Regions from separate parts of the Homo sapiens genome. Here region 2 is linked to region 1. Evidence: promoter capture Hi-C in human tissues and cell types (Jung and others, 2019). All regions are on one chromosome and are shown on one strand. Each heading gives the region's core, a stretch centred on a gene start or on the middle of the fragment in contact. The rest is flanking DNA. Distances are from core to core; before and after follow the strand shown. Region 1 holds the start of TNFSF12-TNFSF13 (TNFSF12-TNFSF13 readthrough). Region 2 holds the start of KCNAB3 (potassium voltage-gated channel subfamily A regulatory beta subunit 3).

The links. Contacts are between HindIII fragments. The study calls those that stand out against the background at their distance.
Region 2: a contact is called between the fragment with the promoter of KCNAB3 here and the fragment with the promoter of TNFSF12-TNFSF13 in region 1, in 1 of the 25 tissues and cell types used here (small bowel).

Annotation. Positions count from the first base shown.
Region 1 is chr17:7,547,577-7,551,642 of GRCh38, forward strand. It overlaps TNFSF12-TNFSF13 (TNFSF12-TNFSF13 readthrough), which reads left to right and starts at 1,482. Exons shown (of 11, transcript NM_172089.4): 1 at 1,482-1,736; 2 at 1,898-1,945; 3 at 2,544-2,619; 4 at 3,223-3,276; 5 at 3,367-3,402. The coding sequence starts at 1,578. TNFSF12 (TNF superfamily member 12) reads left to right here and starts at 1,482. Exons shown (of 7, transcript NM_003809.3): 1 at 1,482-1,736; 2 at 1,898-1,945; 3 at 2,544-2,619; 4 at 3,223-3,276; 5 at 3,367-3,402. The coding sequence starts at 1,578. RefSeq lists silencers at 1,377-1,566, 1,597-1,676. The HindIII fragment of the contact is 9,091 bases long and covers 1,421-4,066 here.
Region 2 is chr17:7,927,616-7,931,681 of GRCh38, forward strand. It overlaps KCNAB3 (potassium voltage-gated channel subfamily A regulatory beta subunit 3), which reads right to left and starts at 2,241. Exons shown (of 14, transcript NM_004732.4): 1 at 1,579-2,241; 2 at 168-211; 3 at 42-79. The coding sequence starts at 1,820. TRAPPC1 (trafficking protein particle complex subunit 1) reads right to left here. Exons shown (of 4, transcript NM_021210.5): 2 at 3,891-3,961; 3 at 3,396-3,534; 4 at 2,734-3,119. The coding sequence ends at 2,991. RefSeq lists an enhancer at 4,045-4,066. The HindIII fragment of the contact is 19,988 bases long and covers 1-4,066 here.

The DNA.
Region 1 (4,066 bases), core at 232-2,731:
GGTCTTACTCTGTTGCTCGTGTTGGAATGCAGTGGTGTGATCACAGCTCACTGCAGCCTCAACCTCCCAGGCTCAGGTGATCCTCCCATCTCAACCTCCTGAGTAGCTGGGACTACAGGCATGCACCACCATGCCCAGCTCTATGGATGCTTTTTCTTGACTCTCTTTAAGTATATTAGGTAGTACTCTTTGTATCCTGAATTATCTCTGTTTCCTCCAATGTCAAATTTTGTTTGTTAATTTTGGTCTTTCTTTCTTTTTTTTTTTTTTTGAGATAGGGTCTTGCTGTGTTGCCCAGGCTGGAGTGTGGTGGCGTGATCTCAGCTCTCTGCAACCTCTGTCTCCTGGGTTCAAGCAATTCTCTGCCTCAGCTTCCCGAGTAGCTGGGAACTACAGGCGCCTGCCACCACGTCCGGCTAATTTTTTTGTATTTTTATTAGAGACAGGGTTTCACCATCTTGGCCAGGCAGGTCTCGATCTCCTGACCTCGTGATCCACCCGCCTCAGCCTCCCAAAGTGCTGCGATTACAGGCGTGAACCATCGCGCCCAGCCAATTTTGGTCCTTCCTTCCTTCCTTCCTTCCTTCCTTCCTTCCTTCCTTCCTTCCCTCCTTCCCTCCCTCCCTCCCTCCCTCCTTTCTTTCTTTCTTCCTTTCTTTCTTTCTTTTTGAGACAAGGTCTGTTGCCCAGGCTGGAGTGTAGTGGTGCAATCACAGCTCACTGCAGCCTCAAACTCCTGGGCTCAAACAATCCTCCTACCTCGGCCTCCTGAGTAGCTGGGACTACAGGCGTGGGCTAATTTTTTAAAACTTTTCTGTAGAGATGGGGTCTTGCTCTTGCCCAGGCTGATCTTGAACTCCTGGCCCCCAGCCTTGGCCTTCTGGGATTACAGGCGTAAGCCACCTGCCGGACCAATTTTGGTGTTTCTTTTGCATGCTGCTGGTCCTCCTCAGATGCTTGGCAATCATTGGTAATGATGGGCTTCAGAACGTGCTACCGGCACAGTGAGTGTTTTAAGCTGAAGGAATTTGAGAAAACCGCAGAAGCCGAAGGATCTTTCTTACCTTCTCCTGCCCTTCTTCCCTGAACCAGGTCATACAACCTGGAACTCCCTGCCCTTTTCCTGAAGAAGCAAATAACAGCCTCCTGCGAGAGGCGCCCTCCCTGCACCTGGGGGAAAGGAGGGTCCTTATCTCTGAAGACACAGGGACACAGAAGAATCTGAACCAACAGGCCTTCCTGAGTTCCCCACCTCCCCGCAGGAGGTGCCCGCACACGCATAGCCCCGTCGCTCCCGCGGCCGCACGCAACGGACCTCGCCCTGGTGGTGCACGCCCGGGCTGGGCGCTCAGAGGTCGGGTGGGCGCCCACTCCGTTCGCTGCGCGCACAGCGCCCGGCGAGAGGCTCGGAGTTTGATCACACACAGCGTCCGGCTTCCTGTCCCCAGCGCCCCCTCCCGCCCCGTTTCCCTTGCCCCTCCCTCTCCCCGGCCCGATCCGCCCGCCGGCTCCCCCTCCCCCGATCCCTCGGGTCCCGGGATGGGGGGGCGGTGAGGCAGGCACAGCCCCCCGCCCCCATGGCCGCCCGTCGGAGCCAGAGGCGGAGGGGGCGCCGGGGGGAGCCGGGCACCGCCCTGCTGGTCCCGCTCGCGCTGGGCCTGGGCCTGGCGCTGGCCTGCCTCGGCCTCCTGCTGGCCGTGGTCAGTTTGGGGAGCCGGGCATCGCTGTCCGCCCAGGTGAGGCCCCGCTGCGCACCCCTTCTTGGGCACATCAGGAGCTGAGACTGCAGAGGGGCCGCTGGGGGCCGCGTGGGCTGAAGGCAAGGGGAAGGGAGGATGGGTGGAGGGTGAGATGTCAGGTGGAGCGGCACAGGGTGACGCTCCCTCCTTCCCAGCAGGAGCCTGCCCAGGAGGAGCTGGTGGCAGAGGAGGACCAGGACCCGTCGGTGAGTGGGCGTGGGCGCGGTCTGCAGGCTGCTGGGGCATGGGAAGTGTGCACAGCCGAGGCTGCAGGTGTGTGCAGCTGTGCCAGCCGTACTCGAGGTGTGTGCAGGGTGTGTGTGAACACAGTGCGTGCATGGGTGCGTGTCTGCAGGGGTGTGTGTGCGTGGTGACAACTCTGTGTGAGGGGTTTGTGCTGGGGTTGTGCCACCTGAGTCTGAGGTGTTTATTGGCTGGGGGTGACGTGGTTGTATAAGATATGTGAGTCTGCGTGGAAGAGGGGTGCGGTTGTGTACAGGGTGTGTATCCTCTGTGCGTGGTGACTGGGTGCGGGCATGTGTGCAATGTGCCAATTGAATGCAGGGTCTGCGTTGGTTGTGTGTGTGGGTGGGAAAGTGTAGCTGGTCTAGAGGAAAGGGTGAGGACTGGGGCCTGACTCCCAGCTTCACCTTTGCCCGGGGCCCCAGCTGTAGTTGGCTGAGGGGCTTAATCTGTCCCTGACTTCTGTGTCTATTGCTGGCTGGTGGCTCTCCTGACAGGCCCCGTATGTCTCACTTTATATCTCTGGGAGTCTGTGGTTGAACCCTGCCCTAATTCCCCTAGGAACTGAATCCCCAGACAGAAGAAAGCCAGGATCCTGCGCCTTTCCTGAACCGACTAGTTCGGCCTCGCAGAAGTGGTGAGCATCCCTCTATCCCAACCTCAGGAAGCGGGCAGAGCAAAAACCATTATCCACAGGGAGAAACTGAGGCACGGAGGGTGAAAGGAGTTCAGAGTCATGCAGCTAACCAGCCAAGACTCAAACCTAGGGATTCTCGCCCTCCTCTGAAGCTCCTTCTGTCATATGGATGTGCTCCTTCAGACCCTACCCCAAACAGGAAGGCAGGGTGGCCATGAGTTAGAAGAACTACTGGGATCCTGATGGAGACTAGGCCTGGCAGTCAGAGGCCTGGGCCCCGGTAGGCAAAGAGACTTAGGAATGGGATGATGGGGTGGCCGGATGACCACGTGTCCAAGTCGGCATGCAGTTGTCCTGGCCCCCACCTGTTATCTCGGTGTGATTAATAGCAGCTTCCCGTTTTGCTCTCAGCAGTATCCCAGTGTGGATGACAAATTATAGTCACTCTACTTACTGAGGAAGATGAGGCCTGAGATTCTAAGGCCAGGAGTCTGGACAAGAATAAGGATGCCAGGGTTCCTGAGAGGGGAATGGGGCTGGGAGAGTTGCTCTGGGACCCCCACTAGGGCCCGCTTTGCTCATCTGTCTTTCCTTGATCCTCAGCACCTAAAGGCCGGAAAACACGGGCTCGAAGAGCGATCGCAGCCCATTATGAAGGTGGGTGATGGGTGAGCCATACCCAGGAGGAGAGGGGCAGGTGGCAGAGGGTCAGGGCAGGTCTCACCAGCCTTTTCCTGTACTTTACAGTTCATCCACGACCTGGACAGGACGGAGCGCAGGCAGGTGAGACCCCATCCCCCGACACAGCACTGGCCTCCTGGGAAAAGGGCCCTTGAAAACCTTTGACCTCCCACTCCCTTCCCGGCCATCAGTCTCAGAACCACAGAAGCCAGTTCATGAAGGTCTTGGTTCTCTCTGTGACCCAGGCGTGGGACCCCATGAAAGACCCCTACTCTTCCCCAGAACTCTGCCCAGTTCCCCCAGCAAATCACTGTCCCAGCTCTCTCCTTCAGCCCTCATTCTTCTCCAAGAAGCACTTTTCATTCTTTTTTCTTCTGTCTCCTCCATATTCCACGTTCTGATGATCTTTTTCTCTAAATGCTGCTAGTGTCTGCTCATCTTTTCCATTTCTACCCCACCCTCTACCTCAGCACCGTGACCTCAGAACCTCAAATCCAGCCTCTTGCTGCTTCCCCACTCCACACCCTCCCTACCCCTCCACTCCATCTGACCTGTGCTGCCATGCTGAGCCCCTAAACTTCACTTTTCTTGTGGTATTGGCTCTCTACATGGCTTCCAGTCTCTTCGTGGTCTGGTCTCAACCTAATTTCCCTGCACTCTTATGCTGTCTTCATGTTTGCTGCGCTGACACCCCTGCTCCCGGTGTGCCTCTTCTGGACTTTGCACATACCATCCCCCTCACCAGAATGTCTTTCCACTGTGAGAG
Region 2 (4,066 bases), core at 991-3,490, 380 kb after region 1:
CTCACCCCCACCACCCTGATTCTAGGTCCGATAACTTATACCTCATCTGAGATCTGAGAACCAAATGTGACCCAGGTACCTGCAAGAGAGAAGCCAGGCACATGAGAACTGCAGGGGGCAGACCATGAAAGAATGCCCTCCTTTCCTTAATCCCTATTCTGACTCACCTAGGCCAAGACAGGATACCCGAAGACCAGACTTCCCTAGGTTCCTGCAAGATACAGAAGCAGCGGGAAGGGGTGGAGCCTCCATTATGGACTTAGATTATCAGCCCCCAGCTCCTCTCCTTCCAGACTGAGAAGCCCTCAGGTGTCTCAGTCCAAAGAAATTAGACCCAGTGGGCCTATAAGATTGGGCAAGTGCTATCTCCAGAGCAGAGGTCCTAGGAATTTTCTCAAAAGGACAAGTGAACCATATGTGACTGTTCCTCTGGAGCCACTGTCCAGAGTCTCCATTCCCTCTTATCACATTGAAGACGTGCAGTCTGGTTTGTCCTTCTTCTGGGGTCTTGTCTGTGTTTGAGTCATCTGTGGGTTGTGTGCAGTGAGGGGCTGGGAGGAATTTTGTTTGATTGTGGTGAGTTTGTGAGACCAGGCCCTCAGGCAGAGTGCTGTGCCAAATGGTAGATGGCAGGTTGGAAGAGGTAAACCAAGTCAAGTTCAGGCATTCAGACAGACAGGGGTCCCTGGCTAGGCTAGGCAGATGGGCCTGGAGGAAAGGCAGATTGAGGACCTGGGGGGAGGGGGGAGAGTAAGACAGAAAAGCCTAGTTCTCCCTCTCCACTCCCTCTGTTCCTATTGACTTGTGAAGACTGTCTCTGAACCAGTGAGCCCCCTCATCCTCCCAAAGCCCCCAACCCAGGTGTCAGCTCAGCTTTCCAATCAGGGCCACCATATAGAGGGGATCAGATTCCTCAGGTGACAAAGCAGGTCAGATCAGTGACCTCAGCTCACTCCCAAGCAGGAGCCCCTCCTCTACCCCCTACTTCAGGTTCTGAGCTTCTGGTCTGGCAGTCCTCTGAGATAAAGTCAGTTACATTTCAGTCTACCCAGACCCTGTCCCTCAGCATGGAGATGAAAAATGTGGTCCATCCTTCCCACCGGCCCCACTCCCCTTGCACCCAAGAAAGGTCGCAGAAGACCTAGCCTTTGGGGCAGGCAGGGGCAGTATCTGGGTCAGGCACCCCGAGCAGGCCAGAGTGAGAAGCTGATTCCCTCCCTCCACTCCCCAGGACACGGACCCAAGGACACTCCACTGGAGGAGGCATAGCCTGGAGATCCGTGTAGCGTGGAGATCCATGCATCCCTGACCTTCCCAGGGGTAAGGAGGGAAGCTCAGGGGCATCCCCTGGGTCTGACAGGACCCAGTCAACCTTGGTAAACTTGATTCTCGTAGTCAGGGGTATCGACAGAAACCAAGAGAGGGACAAAGTGAGGGAGTGCCAGAGACAGAAAGAAGAGATGGAAAGAAGGGAGACCTACTTAGTGAAGTTTGAAGGGGTCTTGGCGGCCATCTCAAGCAGTCTCAGGGGTCCCGAAAGGAAAGCGGAAGGGGTGGGCTGCCCGGCCACCCCCATACCTGTATTTCATGCCAGTGCCTCGGCCGGTGCTCTCTCGGAGGGCCCCAGCGGGCGCTGGGGGTCGGGGAACCAGTGCAGCTCGGGCCTTGGGGCCAGACCCTCCACCCCCCGGAGGATTCCCGTGCCCCCCGCCGGCCGGCCCACCATTACCGCCCCCGGGGCCCGGCCGGGGTCCACACAGACGGTCCTCACTGCTCCGGCTGCGAAGGTTCTGCTCGGTACACGCGATAGACACCTGCATGCTGGCTGGCCGAGGCGGGGGAGGGGGCTCCGAGGGGACGGGAGGGGGGAGCAGGGAAGCCCGAGGGCTGACGACCGGGGGCGTAGTGGGGCGAACCCCGGCAGAGCGGGAAGGCTGAGGAGGCTGCGGCGGGAGCCGCCAGGCAGGATCGGGCCCGCGGGGGCGGGCTGCTGGAGGTCGCGAGGTTTGCGGCGGGAGGGAAGAAACGTGGGGGGCGCCAGGAGTGGAGATATTCAGTTACGGGGGACACAGGAGCAAGGATTAGGAGGGGGAAATGGATGAGGGTAAAGGTCGAGGATGAGGTAAAGGTCTCGGAGGATAAGGACCCAGGGGGAAGCGGGGCGGGAGAGAGATGCCACTTCAGCGCGAACCGCTGCGGGACCCGCTGGGCTCCCAGCCGCGTCGGCAGCGGGCCCAGCTCATCAGCATGCAGGCACCGCCTCCTCATCTGCATAGAGCCGCCCTCCTCTCAGCCAAACCTGCCGCTCATCTGCATAAGCCCCGCCTGCTGAAGGCTCTGCAGCTTGAATATTTTCTGAGCGGAATTGGGGAGGATGGCTCCTGCACCCTCTGGGACCCAAGGGCTGTCAGGCTTCCCCCGGCCCAGTGATTCTCAATCGGGAGGGAATGTATCTCCCAGCGTACTTTCGGCAAGGTTTGGAGATATTTTTGATTTCATGCCTGTGCTATCAGCATCTAGTGGGTGGTGGCCAGGGATGCTAAAATCCTACAAAGCACAGGACGGTCCCCACAATAAAGAATTATCCAGCTCAAAGCATCAATATTCCCACGGTTGAGAAACCCATCCGCAAAGCCACTTCGTGGCCCTCCAGGGGGTGTGGCTGCCCTACTTTCCACCTTCATGCGTGGGGCAGGACTGAGAGGGCCCTCAAACCAACACGCTCAGGCCGCAGAGAGTGACAAAAAGTTTATTCTGTGCTTCTCGCAGCATTAGGCAGGGGATAAAACTGGAGAGAGGGCCTGGTGTGGAGGTGGAGGGACTCTGTGGGCTTCACTCTGGTAGGAGGAGAGCATCAGGGCAGGCCTTTAGGCTGTTGCTCTGGGCAGGGGGTGGGGGTGCGGGGGCTTACAGTGGGGGCCCTTAGTTGGCACAGGTTCGGAAGGGCCCCAGGCAGACATGAATTCTCCTGAGACTTGAGGTAGGTTGCTTCAGCCAGCCCGGGCGGAGAAGAAGGGCAGAGAGCGAACATAGGAGTCCAGTCGGGAGCGAAAGAGCTCACTTTGCACAGTTTGGCCCAGCGGGCACAGGGGATTCTTCACCACCAGCTCCACATACAGCTATGGAAAGGGAAGATGTTAGAGCCAGGCTTTGGATACTTCTGGTTTTTAGCCCCAAACCTTGTATAACCTCAGGGGTGTGTGAATGCACAAGGAATAAGGGCTGGAAGGCAAGCCCTCTCTGAGGAGAAAGTGGTGGTGGGAGTTAAGAACCTAAGGGCCCCTGAGAAAACTCTTGAGTTGAGCAAACATATAGTAGGATTGGGGCAGGGGAGATGAGGGAGTCTTGGGGTTCTGAAGAGCTCTGGGGGATGGGTCCCTGGGGCTGGCACTGACCGCACTGTAGATGTGGTGCAGCACATCTCGGATGGGTCCCACGCCCAAGTCAGTATTCATGACAACTTTGATCCCAGTGGGCGTCTCGTAGTAATGGAGTTTGTAACGGCTAGTTTGGAAGGCCAGGAAGCCATCCTTCCTGCAGAGATGAGGAGGGTGTTAAAGAATGGGAGCAGAATCTCTCCCAAAGAGACACTTCTGATCCCCGCAAACATCGACTCCCTCTTTATCTAAACATATCCTTTGTAGAAGCCTGGTTGAGTAAAGACATCGCCCATCGTCACCCCTCAATTTAGCCCCCACCAACTTCTCTACTTTCAGACCCTCCCCACCCCCACTCCTGCCAGCTCCAGCACTCTCGCTCCGGACTCAGCCTCTCTTAAGTACCCTTTCCCCCCTCTGGAGGCCAATGCTCCTTCCACTTCAGAAAGTTTCCCCCATCCCCAAATTCCCAAGGCTAGCCCTCCTCCCAACATCTTCTCTGACTCCGCGTACATGTCTAGCGGGGACATCTTGCTGACAAACGAGCGGATAGAGAAGAGCATCCCGTACATCAGCTTATACTCCTGGAGGGAGAGGGGCAGAGTTAGCTCTCGGTTGATGCGGGAGATGGGGTGGGGGGTGGGAACGAGCTGGGGTTTGGAGAGGAGGGGCTGGGTTGGGACTATAGG